Linked DNA regions of Homo sapiens: region 1 is linked to region 2. Evidence: promoter capture Hi-C in 16 types of primary human blood cells and fetal thymus (Javierre and others, 2016). All regions are on one chromosome and are shown on one strand. Each heading gives the region's core, a stretch centred on a gene start or on the middle of the fragment in contact. The rest is flanking DNA. Distances are from core to core; before and after follow the strand shown. Region 1 overlaps CPSF3 (cleavage and polyadenylation specific factor 3). Region 2 holds the start of ODC1 (ornithine decarboxylase 1).

The links. The method cuts DNA at HindIII sites, captures the fragments that hold promoters and counts their contacts. A CHiCAGO score of 5 or more calls a contact.
Region 1: a fragment that was not itself captured here is called in contact with the fragment with the promoter of ODC1 in region 2 in 2 of 17 cell types (activated CD4 T cells and non-activated CD4 T cells); the score reaches 6.3 in activated CD4 T cells.

What each region holds. Positions count from the first base shown.
Region 1 is chr2:9,425,548-9,430,938 of GRCh38, forward strand. CPSF3 (cleavage and polyadenylation specific factor 3) reads left to right here. Exons shown (of 18, transcript NM_016207.4): 2 at 3,218-3,281; 3 at 4,376-4,473; 4 at 5,205-5,333. Among named protein-coding and RNA genes, the nearest start is that of CPSF3, 4.6 kb to the left of the region's middle. The HindIII fragment of the contact is 3,044 bases long and covers 620-3,663 here.
Region 2 is chr2:10,443,740-10,449,700 of GRCh38, forward strand. ODC1 (ornithine decarboxylase 1) reads right to left here and starts at 4,588. Exons shown (of 12, transcript NM_002539.3): 1 at 4,382-4,588; 2 at 1,416-1,525; 3 at 1,192-1,310; 4 at 735-908; 5 at 356-528; 6 at 1-97. The coding sequence starts at 1,293. It overlaps SNORA80B (small nucleolar RNA, H/ACA box 80B), which reads right to left and starts at 3,110; the gene lies at 2,975-3,110. RefSeq lists silencers at 2,525-2,754, 3,979-5,458 and an enhancer at 3,769-3,858. The HindIII fragment of the contact is 2,497 bases long and covers 3,777-5,961 here.

The sequences.
Region 1 (5,391 bases), core at 892-3,391, 1.0 Mb before region 2:
GATTTTGTGGCTGATCAGCTGTATCTGGAAGGGTGGTTGTGGGGAGGGAAGGCAGGGCAGAGAGGATGTTATGATCAGATTCCTAAGTTTGGCAGTTGGGAAAGGGTAGTGTTATTCACTCAAGGAGTATAAGAGATGGGGCAACTCTGGAGTAAATTTGGGAATTTGGTTGTTTCGTAACAGCTTTATTGAGATACAGTTTACATACCATACAACTCACAATTTACATACCATACAACTCATTTAAAGAGTATAATTCAGTCGTTCTTAACATAGAGTTATACAACCATCACCTCTCTCTAATTCCAGCACATTTTCATCACTCCCAAGAGATACCTTGTATTCATTAGCAGTCATAGACAATCCCCACTACCTCTCCAGCCCTAAGCAACCACTAATCTACTTCTTTATAGATTTGCCTGTTCTGGACATTTCATGTAAGTGTGATCATACAATACATACTCTTTTGTCTCTGGCATCTTTCATTTAGCATAATCTTTCCAAGGTTCAAAATTGAGGAGTTTTGTTCATTCAATAAGTATTTTTTGTGATGTGCTACATGCCAGGTACTGTAGCAATACAGCAGTGAATAAGATGGACAATGCCTCTGTTCTTAGGAAGCTTTCATTTAGTAGCCTGAAAGAAGACATAAGTAGGTACAATAACTTCATGTAGTTGTATTAAGATAACTGATGCTGGGTTGTGGCTTGCTGTGAAGGGCAAATTAGAGGAGGTAGTCAAGGGAAAGCATCTGAGAAGGTGACGTTGGAACTGAGACCCAAATGATACAAAGGAGCCAACCACATCAATATCTGAAGACAAAGCATTTCAGGAAGAAAGTAGAGCAAGTACGGGGCATGTGGTGGAAACTAGTTTGGCATCTTGAATATGAAGTCCCGGGAGAGATCCTAGTAGAGATACCTAGTGTCACGTGTATGTATTAAAGGTCTAGAATTCAGAAGAACAATCTGGGTTACAAATACAGGCTTGGAAGTCCTTAGCATGTCAGAAAGATGAGAATGAAGATTGAGAAGTTGGCCAAGGAGCAAACCCTCGGAATATCAACATTTAAAGGGTAGGCAGAGGTGGCTGAATATGTGAAGGAAACAGGAAAGCCAGCAAGACAAGATGAGAGCATCAGGTCAGAGAAGCCAAGGGAGAGGTGCTTGAGGAAGGAGCAGGTACTCCTTAGGAGTGACAACGGCTGCCAAGAGAACAAGATAGGGACTGACACCTATAGTTCCAGCTACTTGGGAGGCTGAGGCGGGAGGATCACTTGAGCCCAGGAGTTGAAGGCCAGACTGGGCAACATAGGGGGACCTTGTCTCAAAAAAAAAAAAAAGACTGAAATGACTACTGAGCAGCAAGGACAGTTTCAGAAAAGTGATTGGTAAAAGCCAGAGTATAGCGAATTGAGGAGCGAGTAGAAGGTGAGGAAGTACAAGAGGGTCCACTGCCCTGGGAGGTGGTCTGGGGAAAGAATAAAGTGGGAACTAAAGGAGCTTAGAGTCAAGGGATTTTAATTTGGGGATGAACATGGCTGTAGTATGTTTAAATTTGGATTGGATGGTAAAGAGCAGACAGTGAGGAAAATGTCAATGACACAGCAGTGTTGAGTTCCTCAGAAGGAGGGAGGGAGTACGTAGAGTAGAATGGTGGAAAGTTTCATTGTGGAAAGAGAGGTCTATTCTATCTATAGAGGAGAAATAGAAGGAGACAGATGTGGGCAGGTTGGTACCCTGTTGGTACATGTATTCTTAATTATTGTACCAACATGAAGTTGAGGAAATTTACAAATGGACTGTTTATTTTTTTGATGCAGAAGATGGCCCATGCCTCAAGTGAAGAAGAGGATAGAAGGTTGGAAAATTTGGGAAAGGGAAGAAAGTTTGAAAATAGTTGATATGGAAATGAAATGGAGAAAACAGCCAGGCAACATTGAGGGCCAGTTAAAGTGGAAGGCCAGGGTATCCACAATAATTACAAATAAAAAATGTTTAAAAAGTGGAAGGCCAGGAATTTATGGCGGCTCTCATCCACAGTTGTTTGATCTTCTGTATCAACACCTGTTTGGAGGTAGGATCTCAGTTTGGGGATAGATCCATTGCATGTCCATCTGACTGAGTTCCTTGAGGTCAGGGTCCCTGTAAGGCATTTCCATGTCCTAGGCACTTAATCCAGTGCTTGGCAAATAGAAGCTGCTTAATGTTGAGTGAGTGAGTGGATTGTGAGCTAGAATGGTTGGGAAAAGGCATCAAAGAAGGTGAGGGATTTGAAAGATGAGGTTTAACTTAAAGTGTGCCTTGTGACCATTGCAAATTATGGCTGAAATTATTAAGAAGAAACAAAAATTATGTAAGTAGTTGGTATAAAATATGCTGAAATAACAGAAAGTAGAAGAAAAAGTGATTGAAATTCACAGTATGAATAAGTATTTTAAAAAAAAAAATTTTTTTTTTTTTTTTTTGAGGCAGAGTCTCGCTCTGTTGCCCAGGCTGGAGCGCAGTGGCGCGATCTCAGCTCACTGCAAGCTCCGCCTCCTGGGTTCACACCATTCTCCTGCCTCAGCCTCCCGAGTAGCTGGGACTACAGGTGTCCGCCACCACGCCTGGCTAATTTTTTGTATTTTTAGTAGAGACGGGGTTTCACCGTGTTAGCCAGGATGGGTCTCGATATCCTGATCTCGTGATCTGCCTGCCTCGGCCTCCCAAAGTGCTGGGATTACAGGCGTGAGCCACCGCACCCGGCCATTTAAATTTAAGCCATTTGGCAAATACACATTATGATCTTAAAGAAGATGACAGTGTTGAAATGCTTATGGCTTTCTACTTAAGTGCTAATTCTAGAAGTATTATTATATAATCTGCGTAACTGCTAGTTTACATTTTAAATACATTATAATTTAATCCTAAAATTCAGAAAATTGAATTTAAATCAAGCCCAAACCTTTGGGCTTCTTGGATCTGTACCGCCTTCTCTCTTAATTTTAAGAACTGCAAGATCCCTGGACTCCCAAGGATCAGTTTTCATCTGTTCTCATGTGGACACTGTTCTTCCCTGTCTTTGTGATTTTGTAGAACTCTCTTACGTCTCAGAATTTTTCAGTGAGGTGCTGTCATCAGATGGCATGTAGTGTACATTGTAAAAAAGTGTAAGTTTATTGGACTTGGTTTTGATTTTTTTTAATCCTTCTTTTTCTCCCCTTGAATATTTACAGTGGAGCTGGGCAAGAAGTAGGAAGATCATGTATTATTCTCGAGTTCAAAGGAAGAAAAATAATGGTAATTACTATTTTTGTACTCAGTTTAATAGTATGGCTCTGTCTGTATTGGGTGTTAGTCTTTTCTCATAGACTAGTTATCTTTTTAGCTCCCAGAAAAATGTTATAGTACATGTAATCTATGCTGTATAGTGTTAATGAGAAAAACTAATACACACTTCTACTTAGTAATTTAGTTGATTAAGAAGATATATTCTATGACTGTAAAATTGTCAGCTAGATCTGTTGAACTGTTACCTCTTCAAAGTCCCTCTTCCACTCCTGAAGGGTTGAGCCAGCCTAACTGCCCCACCCCCAGTGGAAGATCCCAAGGGCCCAAGCACTCTGAACACACTGAGAGCTCTAGCCGCCTCCAGCATGTGGGGATCAAGCCTTGGCCTAGAAGCTTGGATCCCCAGGTCCCACTGGGGCTGCCGGCCTTGGCCAAGTCACTTTGCTTCTCTAAGCCTGAAAGGTAGAGGGGTTAGAGGAGATAGTTTCTAAGGTACTCATTAGAAAGTCAGTTCTGTGTCTCAGATTCCTTTGATTCCTCTTTCTTCTCAACTCCTCCCAATCTGAAAAGAACATGTATAGGTCAGACATAGTCATCCTTTTAGTCATCTGTTTTGTTAATTTGGTAGTAACGCCATAAAAATAAGTAACTTTAATGACTGAGTCTTAAGAATTTGTTCCCTAATGCCTTAAAATATTTAAATTACCCTGATCAGGTAAGTTTCCCATTTCTAATTATTATCTTCTCACGAGAGTCGATCTGGTAGTAGTAAATCTATAAACTTTTAAAATTTTAATCTGATATCAAAGTTTTTGAAAAAGATTTAATTCGTTGTTAGAATGACGACCAAAAGTAGCTGGAAAGAAGCTGTTTTGTACTTTGCATCCTGTGACCCCTAAATGTGAGCTATATTTTAAATTTGTTGGGAAGTTAGAATTGTTAATGGCATATTTGCCACATTTAATAAGAATCATGTTCCAAGTGCTAGTGCCTGGAGTCCATCTTGAGTATATGGGTGATGGAACTAGAATTATTGCCTATTTGCCGAATGAATTTTAATAAAATGTGCAGGAGATTGTGATCTCTTTTCCTGTTTCTTTCAGCTCGACTGTGGGATCCACCCTGGCCTAGAAGGAATGGATGCTCTTCCTTATATTGATTTAATTGACCCAGCTGAGATTGATCTCCTATTAATTAGTCAGTAAGTTTTTCCCTTTATTAATGACACTTTTTCACGGACTTTTACTATCAAGATCATTCTTTACTAGATTTTGAGAGTTTGGTTTTTTAAAAGAGTGTTTTCTGCTAGGAAGCATATTGCAGACATCTGAGTCTAAACCAACACTCCGTAATGTCATCACAGGCTAGAGAAGTTTGCTATGAAAAACTTACCTACCTCTATGTATAAGTTCAGTGAGTATGTGAGAAGGAGATAGTACAGAACTTGAATCATTGTAAAACTTGAGACTAAGAAAGCCCTTTTCCAGGATATCTCCTTGAGGTCACTGTTTTATCACATTCTTCTATAAGAACGCCATTTCACCTTTATTGAAACTATTTTTAAATAGAGTTCATATAGAAAAATGTGACAAGACAGTGACCTCAGGGAGATATCCATGTTTCAACTTTATTCTGTTAAAATGTTTGCTGTAATTCTGGCTGCCAGGAGTAGGCTTGGGATATTCTTCTTCCTCCCTAATTCACTAATAAAGTTTTTTGCTGTTTAAAAACAATACTTTAAACATCTTTCCTCCATTTTAGAACTGTATGCATTACTTCTTCCTTCTACACATACCTACTCTTGGTTTTTCTGAAAGTATCAGCACATAGTTGTTTATATAAAACTTGTTTTGTACAGTAAGCAACAGTTTCATTACATGGTATCTGATGGATAATAATTTTAAGAATTAATGCAGCCTCTTTCTTTTTAAGTTTCCATTTGGATCACTGTGGAGCTCTGCCCTGGTTTCTACAGAAGACAAGTTTCAAAGGAAGAACATTTATGACTCATGCCACAAAAGCTATTTATAGATGGCTTCTTTCTGATTATGTCAAAGTTAGGTAAATTACTTTATTAGATTATACACGACTTTGGCTCTATATGGCATGTATGGTTCAA
Region 2 (5,961 bases), core at 3,338-5,837:
TTCCAAAAGGAGCCTGCTGGTTCTGAGCGTGGCACCGAATTTCACACTGAGACGACAGACTGCTTTGGAATCATCAGTGGCAATCCGCAAAACCAACCTACAAGCAAGGAAAGTGCAGCAAATGTCTCATGATAGATGTTCACTTATAGCCACAATTAAAATAAAAACAATCCTGTTCTAAATACTGTCGCTGATATATTCTGTAGTTTGAGTCCCAGGCTTCATGACTCAATGGGGGTTTCAACTACTTTCTACTAAAGTATAGAAATATAATAATCAGAAATTTAAGTTTGTTTGATAAGAATCCACATATCTTATGCTCCCGATCTTGCCCTCAGATGGGGGAATAACTCACTTTGCTTTGGGATGTGCTCTGGCAACTTTCATCAACTCAACTTCACTATCAAAAGTCATCATCTGGACTCCATTATTAGCAGCATACTTAATTTGAGATACTTGTTTACAAGGATTTGCATAGATAATCCTCTCTGGAGGCACCCCCAGACTCTGCACCAACTGTATTTCAGTCTGAAAAAGAAGAGTGGTGTCATGCTATCCATATGTGGCTTAACACGTGGAATAAACAGAAAAGCATGGGAAGTTGTCATGTACCCCCCCGCCCCATTTGCCTTTAGTGAGCATTTATTGCCCAAAAAACACAACTTGTATCTGCCTCGTGGGGAATACCAGGCCCATTTTATACAACGCTTTTGAGGCCTGCTGCTATCGCTTACCTTGCTAGCACAGTCAAATCCTGTCCCGGTAGCAGCAAGGGTCTTCACGATGGCTTTGCTATCATTACATTTGACTGCATAAAAGGGGGTGACACGAGGGAGAGCTTTTAACCACCTCAGATGTTTCTTTAGAATGTCTCCCAGGTCTGCCACATAGAAGGCATCCTTATCATCCTGAAACAAGAGTGGTCACAGGTGACTCACTAGCAGCCTCACCACACACCACACCAATAGCCAGCGACCTTCATTCCCATCAGTCACAATGAATCCTGCTCTTTTGAGTCTAGCCACTGATATGAGTATCACCATTATCACTATTAATTTACCACCAGTGAATTAATTTCTACATTCCATAACAAGACATGTAAGCCTCATTGCTCTTCCTTAGACCTTGCCAAAGTTTTCCACTTGCCTGGCACTCTCAGCTGCACTGCCAGCATGGGCCTCATATACTTACAGAAGAAGAAACTTCATTAATTTTCTGGTCCAGAATGTCCTTGGCAGTAAAACCTTCATCGAGGAAGTGGCAGTCAAACTCTTCATTACCAAAGTTGTTCATGATTTCTTGATGTTCCTCTGAAATGCAACAAAATGCAAATAGAGTGGAGAAATTCACTTAGAAGCCTTAGCAATACAATTCTTAAGATTAACCTGCAACATAAATGTAAACTGAATACTTACATGGAAAACTAAGAGATGGAATTGAAAGAAATATTTCCAGCTTCTCACAAAGGCAACTCTCCAGGAATTCCAAATCCCTCTGCGTGTGCCCTTGGAACAGCAGTGACAATCTGAGAAATAAAATAGGGAATTTGCTGTCTACCTTAGGAACACATCGAGTTGAAGATGGGGCACTGGCTGAGCACACGCAGAGCTAATCATGCCCCGGATATGAACCACTCACTGGCCTGGTCATCCTAATTATTACTAGGCATAAGGTACATGATTCCATAAACCTTGGCAGTATAAGGACACAACAAAAAATACCAGGTTTTTCCAAGGCAGCACACTAAGCATTTCAAATATTTGTACCAAAAAAATCTAGCATGCAAGTTTCAGAAGCTTATCTGCACTTAGCTCACTGATATGGAAAAAAGTCTTATAATGGTCTGATTTATTTCAGAGCAGTTTCAGTTCCTTAGAAACTTAAAATAGCATTATAGACTTTTTTATTTTTTTTGAGACAGAGTCTCACGCTGTCACCCAGGCTGGAGTGCAGCGGTGCAATCTTGGCTCACTGCAACCTCTGCCTCCCGGGTTCAAGCGATTCTCCTGCCTCAGCCTCCCCAGCAGCTGGGATTACAGGCGCCTGCCACCATGCCCGGCTAATTTTTGTGTTTTTAGTAGAGACAGGATTTCACCACGTTGTCCAGGTGGGTCTCAAACTCCTGACCCCAGGTGATCCACCCGCCTCGGTCTTCCAAAGTGCTGGGATTACATTATAGCCTTTATACACAGCCATACAAACATTTCCTACTTCCACTAAGTCTTAGAATGATTTTTACTGACCAACAGGCATCATGGAAATGTCTGGAGCATTTGAGATTTTACGAGTTAATTTTCATGTATTAGCTGGGTATATACTTCTTAAAAACTGTAATCTTCAAGTCAACTTATCACATTGTATTACAGTTGCTGTTACCTGATCAGAATTCAGTATTTTTTTTTTTTTTTTTTGAGACAGAGTTTTACTCTTGTTGCCCAGGCTGGAGTGCAATGGCATGATCTCGGCTCACCTCAACCTCCGCCTCCTGGGTTCAAGCGATTCTCCTGCCTCAGTCTCCCGAGTAGCTGGGATTACCGGCATGTGCCACCACACCCGGGGCCTGGCTAATTTTATATTTTTAGTGGAGATGGCGTTTCTCCATGTTAGTCAGGCTGGTCTCCAACTCCCGACCTCAGGTGATCCGCCTGCCTCAGCCTCCCAAAGTGTTGGGATTACAGGCGTGAGCCACCACGCCCGGCTAGAACTCAGTATTCTTAAACCAGCGTTGCCTACCAAGTTTAGCAATTCCGGGAATGCCAACTGTCCTTACAGTCACTCTCGTATTTGCTTAGCTATGAGAATAATTTGGGGCTAACTTCACCAAAAAAGAAAAACAAGCAAGAACATCACTCTAGTAACAATAAAAGCCACTGTATTTTGCTTTCATCAAATGTGGCACCTTGTGAACCAGCTTTCTTAAAATTATTTATTTTAACCTTTAAAAATTTCTGCCAGGTAGAGCTTTCTTCTTTTCCACTGTGCAACCCACTTCAGTGCCAGCAGCCTACGGGCACAGAGGCCAGGCAATGGTTCGGGGACACAGTTTGCTCTGGCATGGGGTACTATGACAGGCCCAGGGTGACGGGCCTGTCATAAATCCAAACCCATGCATAGAATTTGCTTTAAAGCTCTATCTATTGTGACTGCTTGGCATTGTCAACCTCCGAAGTTGCCTAAATCACCCCTCGGAGAAGGGAAGAGAGTAACAACGCTAGCAAAACCATTTTTGTTACAGACATGGTTATATATTTTTGTTTATATGAAGAATATTTACAATTTAATAATAAATAGGCTCATGCAGTCTCGGACTGGGTCATTTGAGGCCTTATTAAATATTTTTAAGGCAATGTTCAGGCCTAAACTTGGAAAGTTTTGATTTCTTTTTAATACGCCAATACTTTTTTGCTTTTCTGTATCTTTTAAGGCGTTACTTAAGTAACTTACTTGAATATATTTTACTGAAGAACACCTTTCGGTCTTTCTGTAACAGCTAAGTTATTTAAAATGGTCAATCAATTAGCACAAGAGGATAATGTTAGAAGAGATAGGGGCTAATTCAAACAAACTTTGAAAAAAATTTCACAAATCAATTAAAGTCTGCCCAATTTTATGTTTAAACAAAGTCAGCCAACACATTCTTTGTCCTCCCCAGACATTCCTGAGAGGTTCTGCCTTCTACACTTTCACCAATTATTTCGACTTCGCAAACAGCACAATCAGCCTTTTCTGCAAACCTTAGGGCTGTCTCCCCTGTGTATGTCCGTTCATCTAAGCCAAGCTTTTCCGAAATCACCGAGTCATTCACAGTCCTTAAATAAACACCTCTAAGTCATGGCCGAGCATCTAATATCACAGCTACTACAGCAAGACTATCTTAGCTCTACCCACTCTCGCGGGTTTCCAAATTGGTGTCATCTGCTCTGTAGACACAGCGAAAATAAAAACTGGAAGGAAACTGAAGGCGCCAAGGCCGGGGCCCGCTCGTCTGTACCAAGGCGAGCCCGGGCTCTGCGCCCCTGCACCTGCTGCGCGGCCGCCAGGGCCTCCCCAACGGCTCCCCGGCCAGCGCGCGGCCGCCGAAGGGTTGGGAAAGAGGCCGGCGCGGGGCCGCAGGGTCTCCGGGTGGGTCTCCCCTAGGCCCCTCCAGCCCCGAGCTGTGAAGACGGGGGCAGAACGAGGCGCCCGGATCACCCTTATCCAGCCGCGGGAGAACCCCGGGCCGGGAGGAAGCGGCGCCTCAAGGTCGTGGCCCGCTCGGCGACCACGTGTCTCCGCAGGCCGGCGAGGCGCGCCGCACACGTGCCCGGGGCCCGGGGCCCGCAGCCCGCCCCGGCTCCCGCCCTCGCTCCCTCCCTTCCTCCGCGGCCGGGGAGTCCCTCACCTCAGAGCGCCCAGGCGCCGCAGGCCAGCCCCATGGGGAAGCGCAGACGCCGGAGCCTGAGTCGCAGCCGCAGGAGCGCTCGGCCGCCCCCGCCGCGCCCGTCAGCGCCTGGCTCCCGCCCGCCGGAGACGCCGGCCCGAGGTGGCGCCGGAGCTGCTGGCAGAGGGGCGGCGGGCGGCGGCGGCGGCGGCTACAGGAGGGACTGACAAAGCCCCACGGCACGCCGCTCCCTACTTATAGCACCGGCGGGTCGCCATGGAGACGCACCAGCTCAAACCAGCCACGATCGGTTCCGGCCGGGACACCGCCGGGGGAGGGGCGGGGGCCCGGCGGTGGCCAACCCGGGCCCGCGCGGAGCTGGTGGGGCGCCGGCGGGCCGACGTCAGCCGAGCCGAGCACCGCCTGCCCCACGCGTGGCCCCCGCCCCCGGCTTCGCGCCCCGCCCTCCCCGCCCTGCGGCCGCCTCTCCCCGCCCTCCCCGCCCTGCGGCCGCCTCGCCCCGCCCCGCCCTGCGGCGGTCTCGCCCGCCTGGAACTGGTCCGCGCACGCGCACGACGCCGCAGGCCCCGGCCCCGGCCCGCGGCAGCTGAACGGCAGAGCCTGTAGCTGCACAGCTGTGCTTCCACCTGGCGTTCAGTACCTCGTGCCCGAGAGCGGAAAAGGGAAATCGCGAGCGGAGGACCGATGTGCTGGCCACGTGGGCCCCGCCGGGCCGACTCCGGACCCTGCTGCCGCCCATTCCTCCGGTGCAAGGGACCTGGAAGTGATCCCGGTGCCGCTCTGCTCCCACCAGCTAGGGAGCAGAGGCGCGGGAGGGAAGGGGCGTCCCGGGGGTCGCCAGCACGCTGCGGGCAGGGCTGGCAGCCGCCTCCACGCCCCCGCGCTGGAAGCCTCGTCTTTGTAACATCGAGGTATCCTGTAACTAGATGGGTCCTGGCCTGCGGAGGTAGTTTCCCCTGTGAAGCCAGGGACTCAGCCAGGAGCGTGAGGGGACCCGGATCCTGAGTCTCCAAGCCGCCCACTACCCTCTGCTTTACCGGATGGAACTCATCAGTAACTAGGTATCTTTAAGGGCGGCTCCCTGGCGCGCTCTGAGAGTTACGGAAGTCCCAAAATGCTTTGACCGAAAACGTCTAAACAGTGAATACATAAAGCAAAAAGCCGCGTGGGAAATTCGAGTCCCTAGGAGCGCCCAGGGGACGCCTCTGGAGGTGGACTGCCACTCACTCCAGGCCACGCTGGAATGCCCGCACCAGGGAGGCACTGCACTTGAATTGGGGACACTTTTTTTTTTTTTTTTCATTTTTACCTTTCATTCCCTTTTGGACAATCCAGACAGGATATGTCTCTCCCTAGGGTGGGGATTTCGACTCCTTAGGGTGGGAGTACAGCCGATGAAGAGTTAAGGAGAGGAGTGGGTAGATCTAGATCTAGCCTTGGGTGGGTGGGGGCGGGGTTGGAGGAGCTCAGAGCACTGGCCCAGCGCTGCCCCCAACTTGCTGTGTGCTCTTGGACAAGTTATCTCCCTTCTCTGGGCTTCAGATAACCCAAGGATCCTTACATATCTTTATAGCTACAAA